Linked DNA regions of Homo sapiens: all the other regions are linked to region 3. The links are contacts of gene promoters, found by promoter capture Hi-C in blood cells and fetal thymus (Javierre and others, 2016). All regions are on one chromosome and are shown on one strand. The core of a region is centred on a gene start or on the middle of the fragment in contact, and the rest is flanking DNA. Distances in the headings are between cores, read along the strand shown.

The links. Contacts are between HindIII fragments. The CHiCAGO score rates a contact against its expected background, and 5 or more counts as called.
Region 1: a contact is called between the fragment with the promoter of CPNE5 here and the fragment with the promoter of TBC1D22B in region 3, in 1 of 17 cell types (total CD4 T cells). The highest score is 6.1, in total CD4 T cells.
Region 2: a contact is called between a fragment that was not itself captured here and the fragment with the promoter of TBC1D22B in region 3, in 1 of 17 cell types (activated CD4 T cells). The highest score is 5.1, in activated CD4 T cells.

Annotation. Positions count from the first base shown.
Region 1 is chr6:36,838,077-36,840,879 of GRCh38, reverse strand. CPNE5 (copine 5) reads left to right here and starts at 1,436. Exons shown (of 21, transcript NM_020939.2): 1 at 1,436-1,597. The coding sequence starts at 1,503. RefSeq lists an enhancer at 1-78 and a silencer at 763-972. The HindIII fragment of the contact is 11,867 bases long and covers 1-2,803 here.
Region 2 is chr6:36,905,471-36,908,358 of GRCh38, reverse strand. All of the region lies in intron 4 of C6orf89 (chromosome 6 open reading frame 89), which reads right to left. Among named protein-coding and RNA genes, the nearest start is that of C6orf89, 21 kb to the right of the region's middle. The HindIII fragment of the contact is 207 bases long and covers 1,356-1,562 here.
Region 3 is chr6:37,256,001-37,259,125 of GRCh38, reverse strand. It overlaps TBC1D22B (TBC1 domain family member 22B), which reads right to left and starts at 1,354. Exons shown (of 13, transcript NM_017772.4): 1 at 1,153-1,354. The coding sequence starts at 1,208. It overlaps TMEM217B (transmembrane protein 217B), which reads left to right and starts at 982. Exons shown (of 2, transcript NM_001395378.1): 1 at 982-1,558. It overlaps TMEM217 (transmembrane protein 217), which reads left to right and starts at 982. Exons shown (of 3, transcript NM_001286401.2): 1 at 982-1,558. RefSeq lists enhancers at 352-987, 1,074-1,133, 1,234-1,293 and a silencer at 1,394-1,523. The HindIII fragment of the contact is 5,135 bases long and covers 1-2,519 here.

The sequences.
Region 1 (2,803 bases), core at 187-2,686, 420 kb after region 3:
TCATGCCCGGGAGGGCAAGGCTGGGCTAGGGCGGGGGATCGCGAGGGGCTTGGCTGGGAAGAGGACTGCAGGAGAGGTGTCCCAACTCTCCCCTCGCTCGCCAGGCACACAGCACGCGCCTACTCGGTGCTGGCTGCATAGAAGCCCAGGGAGCTCGGGCCGATCTCCCAGTCTGGTTGCCACCAGACTGGGTGGCAGGAGCTTCTAGACCTGGAGGCTGGCTCAGTCGTGTGGTCACGACGGGCGGGGGAGTGGAAGGGCGCTGGCGCGTGGTTTCGGCAGCCGACTTGGCGAGGCCGCGGCTGGCGGGAACCACGGATGGGGGAGGCGCCCATGCACCGACCCCACCTGGGCCACTGGGAAACCGAGGTAGTCCCTCCTGGCACTGGGGTCGCCCCCACACACCTCCCCAGAAGGAGATGTAGGGTCTGTTTCTGAACTGAGACCCGCCCCCGAGTAGGGCGCACACTCAGCAGAGACCCTCCACACCCAAGCCCCTGGGAGGGGATCTTTTTTGCACACCTCCCTCCCACTTATGCCCCCTCTCAACCCTGCATAGACCTTTCTCAAAAAGGCGCCCGTTGGTTCCCATAACCCTCCCCCTCCCCCAGGATGGAGACCCCTGATGGGAGATAGGGGTGGTGAGAGGGGGCGGGCGCAAATGAAGATGCGCGCGACCAGGACCACCTCTTGCTGTCACCCGCCACGTCCCCAGCATCTGGACCGCGTCCCCCGGCCCGCCACGCGCGCACACACACACACACGCGCACACACACACGCTCACACTCACCCTGCGCGCAGACCCCGCCCGCGGCCCCGCCCCGGCCCCTGCGGGCGCCCCCTCTGGCGTTCCCGGGCGGCGGGAGGCTGCGGCTTCGGGCAGATTTGATTTTCCCGCAGCCCGGGCGCCCCGGAGCCGAAGCCCGAGCCGAGGAGGTGGCGCTCGCAGCCGCGTCTCAGCCCCGTCGCCGCCGGCGCCAAGACCCAGGGAGAGGCGGCGCAGCCCGGGCGCTCGGGCTCCGCGCTGCCGGCGCCCCGCCACCCCCGCCGCCAGCGCCCCATCCGGCGCCTCCCGCTCCTCACGCCCCTCTCCCTGTCTTCTGCATCCCCTCTACCTCTGCCCACAGACGCGCGTCCCTCTCCTGGTGCCCCTCTCCACGACTCCGCGTTTCCCTCCCGGTGCCCTCTCCCCGAGCCCCTCTCCCCGCGCCCCTCTCTGCCTTCCCCGCTGTGCCCCCGCTCCCTGGGCTCCTTGCCCTTCCCCACTGGGCCCCTAGCCTCCTCGCGGCGTCACCCGAGCCCCCTCCTCGATCCGCGGCCCCCGCTCCCTCCGCCCTCTTCCCTCTCTCACTTCCCACGCCCCCTCTTCGCGCTCCTCTCTCCTCCCCTTGCCGCCCAGCCCAGGCTCTGGAGTTGGGGGAGAGCCCAGGGCTCCAGTCGCTCCGGAGGAGGCGTGAATCGCGCAGGGATTGACTAATTTGGGGTGGGGGGTGCGGTGGGCGATGGAGCAGCCTGAGGACATGGCGTCGCTGAGCGAGTTCGACTCCTTGGCGGGCAGCATCCCGGCCACCAAGGTGGAGATCACCGTGTCCTGCAGGTGAGCCTCCCGCTGGCCGGGTCCCCTTGCCCCGGCCCTGGACGCAGAGCCCCGCGGCCCCTGCCGCTTCGATCCTAAACCTCCGCGCGCCCCCTTCCCAGAGTGTCCTGGTCTCCAGGACTGCGCCCCTGCCGATCTGCCAAGAGCCCCTGTCCTGTCCAGCTGCGGGTGGCGACGGCAGAATAGGAAGCCAGGCTGGGGTCATATCCCAGAAAGTTTGCGCTCCAGGCTGTTGCATCGAGGAGATATGAAGACACAGGAACAGGGGGTCCAGGCACCCAAGTGGGGAGAGGGAGTTGGTAAAAGGCTGTACTACGGTCTCTGCTCAGGCTATCTCTGATCACCCCATCCCCAAATCACGAAGTGAGTGATTTGCCCCCATCCCTCCCAGGCTCGTCCACCCTCTCCCTTCTGTGCCCTCCTCTCTTCTCTCTTTGCCCCTTCTTTGCCCCAGCATCCTGATCCTCCCCTCACCAGTCTCCCCCACCCCACTGTCCTAGACTCTAGGATTTTAAAGCCTTCCTTCATCTCTATCAACAACGAAATCGACTCCTGGAAAAGGATCAGATTGACTCATTCATACTAAGGTGTGGATACATGATAACAACTTAAAGTGGCACCATTAAAAAAATAACTTGGGTCAAAAATCTTAAGCCAAAGGAATAGAACACTGATTGTGAAACTGTAGAGTCCAACAGAGGAGGAGGGGGAATATTTTTGTGGGCTACCACGCCCAAATCTTCACTCATGTCACACAGGGTTTGGGGGTAACTTCTCTGTCTAAGAGCTGGGTCGACCCCAGGTTCTCCTAGCTAGGGGAAGGCTGCCCCTGGCAGTAAGAGGGTATGGGTGGCAAAGGGGGATTTTTCCCTAGTTCAGTCTCTCTGTGGCTGGCCTAGGATCATGTGCTGCCACGCAAGCATCACCCACTTTGAGGTTCCCCCACAGAGGCCATGCCCCCTGCCCCAGATCACCGACAGCATTTCTGGAGCCCTGGCTGTGCCCTTGTTCGAAATCACCCATCTCATCCTCTTCCAGGTTGCTCCTTGGTCAGACCCTCCATGAGAGGTAACCTTGTTGCCCCCCAGTCCTGTATTACAAAGTTGTGGCATTGATGAGGTGTAGGTAGAGCTGGAGAGTCTGGGCAGGGGCGTGAAGGAGGGAAGGACTCAGTGTGACTTTCTCTTGAAGACTTGGGGATAAGTG
Region 2 (2,888 bases), core at 210-2,709, 350 kb after region 3:
GAGAATTCAATGCTGAAGTGTAGAGGTAAATCATCTCAGAAGGCTGGCCCCAGAGAGGTATCTGACAGGAGCAGAGGTGGCCAGGCTGGTGGCCCGCAAAGAAGGAAGGGAAGTAACAAGAAAAAAGGATCACTGGAATGGGGTAGCCTATGCCATCCACCTGAACTAAGGGAGCCCAAACTTTAAAAGAAAGAACTACTTTTGATTTCTCTGTAGCCTGAGATCACCAAGGTGGATAAAGCATAAGCTTAGAGAGAGGAACGGGCAAACGGTGAACTAGGGGTGGAGGTAGGGTGCAGGCTCCTCTTCCTCTCCCCACAGAGTCCCTGACAACAGAAAGAGATGTGGCCAGACTCCAGCTTGGCCTCTGTCCATCTGAAAAGGTTTTGTCTGACGTGTTCTCTATACAACTGGCTGGAGCCATCATGCCACAAAGTGAACAAAATTCCATCCTGGGAAACAGCCAACAGCACACAGCCAGCCGAGCCCATGCCACCCTAGTTTACGGCTTTTGACTACCTAATATGCTGCATCTCACTTCTTTCCAGCCCTCCTGTTTCTAACCACTTTTCCTGAAGCACCAGACAGAAAAGTCAGCGTAAATTATATAGCAACTTCCTACTTTTAATTTCTAAGGCTTCTTTACTCCAGATATCCCTCATACCAGATATTTTAAACATTTTTTAAAGGTATGACAGAGAAGAGAAATCCTACATATAAAAGTTCAATAAAGCTTATAACTTGTATTTCAAGTTTTCACTATGATTTGGAATGATTTCACTGTTGGAGATGTCAAAAACAGTCTCTCAGACAAAACACAGCCTTGAAGTCAACGTGCAGAGACCATAACTATCCACCCTTCTTTACAAGTTGGGCACTGGGCAGAAAAATGGATGGGCCAGCGTCTCACCCATCAGGGAGCTTCCTGGTGCCTGAGAGTTATTTACAAGAAAACTCACTTAGGCTGGTTCTCTGTAGACAACCATAACATATCCTGGAATTCTGAGTGGGGAGAGTACTGTTACATAGATTATTTACCTGGCAAAAACAAAACAAAACAAAACAAAACAAAACAAAACAAAAGATTTCTTTCCAGGACAAAAAACTCCCTCTGGATAAAAAGGATAGGGAAGAAAGAAAAGAACAAAGCCAATACTAGCTCTACAAGAGCAGTGGTTTTGTCTGTTTTGTTCACTGCTTTGTTGAGAACAGTGCCTGGCATATATAGCAGGGTCTCAATAAACATTTACTGAATGAGTGAATGAAGTTGGGGAGAGGGAGGAAGGGATGGAAGGAGGAAAAGAAGGAGGGAGGAAGGCAGGAAGGCAGGCAGGAAGGCTGATTTTTCAGAAGCTTTAACAATAGAATTAAGTCCATGGGGAGAAAAATCAAATGAGCAATCTGGATTCACAGAAACCTCAAAATAAAGATTAAATAAATATAACTTCATCATTTCTTGCATTATAAATATAGCCAAGAAAACCCTGCAAAGCCCATGACAAAGTTCCCATGACTTTCACTAGTGTGTGCTCAATATTTAATCAGGCTGCTCTCCAGAAGCTTGTTTGTGCATAGCACCTCTTCTAGTACCCCGGGCATGAGGCAGGGGTGAAGCCTTGACAATGAAGGAGGCTTCTGCCAGGTCCCTGCATGTGTGGCACCATGCCCAGAGCCATTTTCACACACCGTAGAGGGAAAGAGCCCAAGAAATCATTTCACCAACAGCCTTGCCTCCAGGAAGCAATGCATTTGAACCACTCCAAACCACAGAGAAAGTCTATTTTCATGAGTTCTCACTTGTACAAAAATTTGTTTCTAAATGTGAAAATTTATTATCAAAAACACAGCAAAAGAAAAAATTAAAAATAAATAAATGTGAGACTTCAGATAAGTCAGTCAATCCCCTTGCACATCAGTTTCCTCATCTTTGAAATGAACATAAAAACAGTATCTACCTTATGTGACTGCTGTGAAGACTGAGAAATAAACTGCACGGCACAGTACCTGGTATACAGTAAGTGCTTGACAGAGCTGTTATTATCACAGAAGGTAAGCTTATTTTGCAAATAAAAGAGGAAGGTTTTCCTTGCGGTCTAAGCAGTTCATCTTTGAGCACAGATCTGGACTCTCTAAGTCTTACTAGATTCTTAGTTTGAGGCCAATAAATGATTTGCTATTTCCAAAACTTCTTGATGTTGCTGGATCTACTTCATCCTTCCTTTGAAGGTTACGGGATGCATCGAGTTCCAAATGTGTGCCTTTTCACTGTATGTGAGAACTATCCCAGGCTTCCTCAGTAGAAATGAATATGTTATTTTTAAGTTGGCCAGAAAATGACCAAAGTAAAAAAAATAATTGGCTGAACATGCTAGCGCCTGGCTTGACTGAGGGCAGAGATGGCAGGCTGTAAGTGTGATATCTTGGACAGAATGCTAGAGGGAGTTAAGAAACTAGGGTTCAAGTGTGATTTTGCCACTTTTAGCTGGGTAAGCAAGCTCCTTTACCTCTCCTGGCCTCAGTTACCTCTTTTATAAAATGGGGTATGTACTAGATTAACTCTAAAATTCTTTTCTGGCTTTAAGACTCAATGATTCCATGGAAATGGTAAAAACCAAGGGGATGGCCGGCAGGAGTAAAGTGACTATAAAGATATGAAGCCAGGAGGGGAGAAAAGCAGTAAGAATGTGAATGTAAAGAGAAAACTCTGGGTCAGTAAGAGGAAGGATTAAGTCAGTCAAATATTATCCATAAGGGTGCAGACTAGGGAGGATGAACTGGGCTGAATGTCAGGGTGCAGACTAGGGAGGATGAACTGGGCTGAATGTCTAAGACAACACCAGGTCGGGAAAATTCTAAAGGGTCAGAAGCTTGGAAGACCACTTATCTTT
Region 3 (3,125 bases), core at 105-2,604:
AACACTTTGGGAGGCCAAGGCAAGAGGATCACTTGAGGCCAGGAGTCAGAGACCAGCCCTGGCAACACAGTCAGACCTTGTCTCTATTTCATTTAAAAAAAAAAAAAAAATTAAGGCTCTTACCTAGCCACTACTGACCCTCATCTCTCTCTCGCTTAAAAAAAAAAAGTCACGAGTTCAAAAGATTATCCCAGAAGGAAAAAACCTGAATCCATTAGAAAAGGTAGCACAGGGGACACAACCAAACATGAATTTCATCACCAAGTAGACTGTAGCTGGCAGAAATCTTAAATTTACGACTGAAATACACACTCTTCCTTATACTTCTCAGGACTTTGCCCAAAATAAACTGAAACAGTAAACCAACAGTAGATTGATGGATGGATAATTTGCCAAAAGTCTCAACATACACCGAAAAGAGGGTGGGGGTAGTCTTAGGGGGTCTGCTCTCCAGTTAAACAACTGAAGAATGAACGAATTTAGTGCATTTGCACAAGAAGTGCATTACAATGCAGGGGAGGAAGAAGTCACTTGGGGTTGGACAAATCCTTAGAAAATGCCAAAGGAATAACCCTGATTCTGTGGTCGTCTTGTAATAATTCCTAGTGGGAAAGGGCCAACTCAAGATAAAGTAAGGTCAGGGTTGAGAATCGTCCTCACTTTTCCTGCCTAACCCTCTCGGCAGGCGGCCCCAAACTCCCACCGGAATCCTTCGGGTAAGTGCCGACCTCAGGGATCAAGGGAAGGGGCCATCCTCGAGCGACCAACCACCTGTGCGTGGTGGAGACCCCTGAGAGGGAGTCCTAATTAGAGTGGGAAGCAGCTCTGGGGAGGAACTTCCGAGACCAGGGCCGACACTGACTATTCACCCAACTCCACTCCCCTTTACGCCCAATCTTCGGCCACCTTCCCGCTGAGGTCACCCCTCCTGAAACCTCCGCCCCCAGACCCCGGTCTACACCCACATCCAGCCGTCCCCAAAGCTCGCTGTTCGCTTCGCTGCCTGACAGCTGCCCTGCCGCCACCAGGCAGTCCCAGCTTCCCCAAACCAGTCTTCTGGCCTCTGTGGCGCCCCAGGCCCGCGGGATTCAGGGATTAGGATCTGGAAGGGTTTGGTCCAATCCCCTATCCCTCTCAGCGTCCTGGGCTCACCTCCCCGGCAGCTTAGCGCTCCTCTTCCAAAACTGCTTGCTGTTCTCAGCGGCCATTGCTCTGGCCGGGGGAAGTCCTTGTAGGCGGGCCAAGGGTTTGCCCGGCGAGATGCCCCCAGACCCCGCAATCTGAGGGCCAACCCAGGCCGCTTCCCCGCCGCCGGTCACCCGCTCCCAGCTCCTGGGGACGCCATCTTGGATGTGGGCACCCCTCCACCCAGCACCGCTGCCATTGGTGAGCTGCGCAAGCCGTGGACGGGCCGACCAATTGGGAGCCGGAATCCTGCAGGCCGCTGAAGCCGACCGGTAACGTCAGGGGCTGGGCACACAGGTGGACGGGGAAGGCGGAGCTTGGACGAGCCGAGAGGCGGGGCTCAAAGTTCCTACCCGCGAGAGGGAAGAAGCAGGTAAGGTAAGGGACCTATGGGAAGGAAGAGGGGATTATCTTCTTCGTGAGGAATGAAGTTCCTTAGTCTAATATTTCTTGGCAAGAGAGAACATACTATGTATTTATATATAGGAATCTTTCACCTAAAAGTAAGGGCCCATGTGTTGGTTGTGGCCCATTTTTAACATCTCTCAATTCAATGACACTCTGGTTATTACCCTCCTTTCCTCATTCCGTTTACATGTCCATTCGTTTTTCTGAAGGAAGGTCAGCAGGGACCCGATAGCCCGGGATTGCTAACTGTTCAACACGTGAGCAACGGTTCATCAGAGTCTCCCTCTCCCTCTGTTTATTGAAAACGATTGAAGGACTTGTGCTGTGGGTTAAAAATTCAAATGATCTAATCCCTATGTCAATCCATAACTCTCACTTTCTGACTATGCTAACAGTGTATATAGGAAATGGTTTATGATAGCTGTCCAACTCAGATTACCAAATACCATTTCTTTGAAGGACACAGTATTGCTCCATCGTGTGAATCACAAAGTTAAGGATGTATCTCCTCCCGGCCCCACCAACATCCTTAATTTCCCTTGTTAATCTATTATAAATCTTGCACCCTTGAATTTATTTTCAATCTAATTTTCCCAGACAATGAGATTTAGTATTAGCATTTTGAATCCTTTGAATGTCTTGTCAGCGTTTTTTGCTGGTTTTGAGTTTCTGTGGTTGTATTCCGTGGTGATTTGGGGAAAGAGGGAAGGCGGGCACCAGTCCAGAGTGGTTTTTGTCCCTTCGAAGGACTGTTGAGGTGGGCTGCGTGTCCCCCACCCCCACCCCCACCCTCCATTTACAGCTACCACATGTACTTCCACATATTGGAGAATACTTAAAGACCTGACCCCTGGCCCCAGCCAAAGAAGGACCTTCTTTTATATGTCCTCCAACGACGGTTTCTTCATTACTCCCATTTTCAAGCTTCTTTTGTCCCCTAATTTAAGAATTATAGGATTGGATGACAAGGGCTATTTTTACTTCCTCTGAGTCTTTCATGCTATAAAAGCATCTTATCTTCTTTATGGGCATTTAACCCAGAGAAAAAAAGCCCCTCTATTCTTTTAATTATTTTACTTGCCTTTCTCTGGCGCTTCTTTTTCTTAGGATGCAGTGACCAGCACTGCACACTAAGCCCAAAGAGGGATGTACTGAGGCTTTGTTAAGGCTGATGTTTTGTCTTTATTCTGGACAGCCAGACCTTTTGCTGGCTGTTTGGACTTTAGAAGAGTTGATGTCTTGAAAGAGTAATCTAAAACAACTTCTAGATTCCTTACCTTGGTGGCAACCAGCAGTTCAGAGTTCATTGTCTTAAAGGTATCCTCTGAATTGTCTTTCCCTATGTGAGCTGCCATACACTCATCCATGTGACAAGATACCTGCCACTTTCCAGCTTATGCACATGGCTTTAGAGATGTTCCAGAAGCTGCTCCCTATTGATTTGACATTTTACTATGTGGAAAGCAAAGTATGATTTGTGTATCTAGACATATCTCAAAATACTCCTTTTTCTTAATCTTCTATGAAATGTT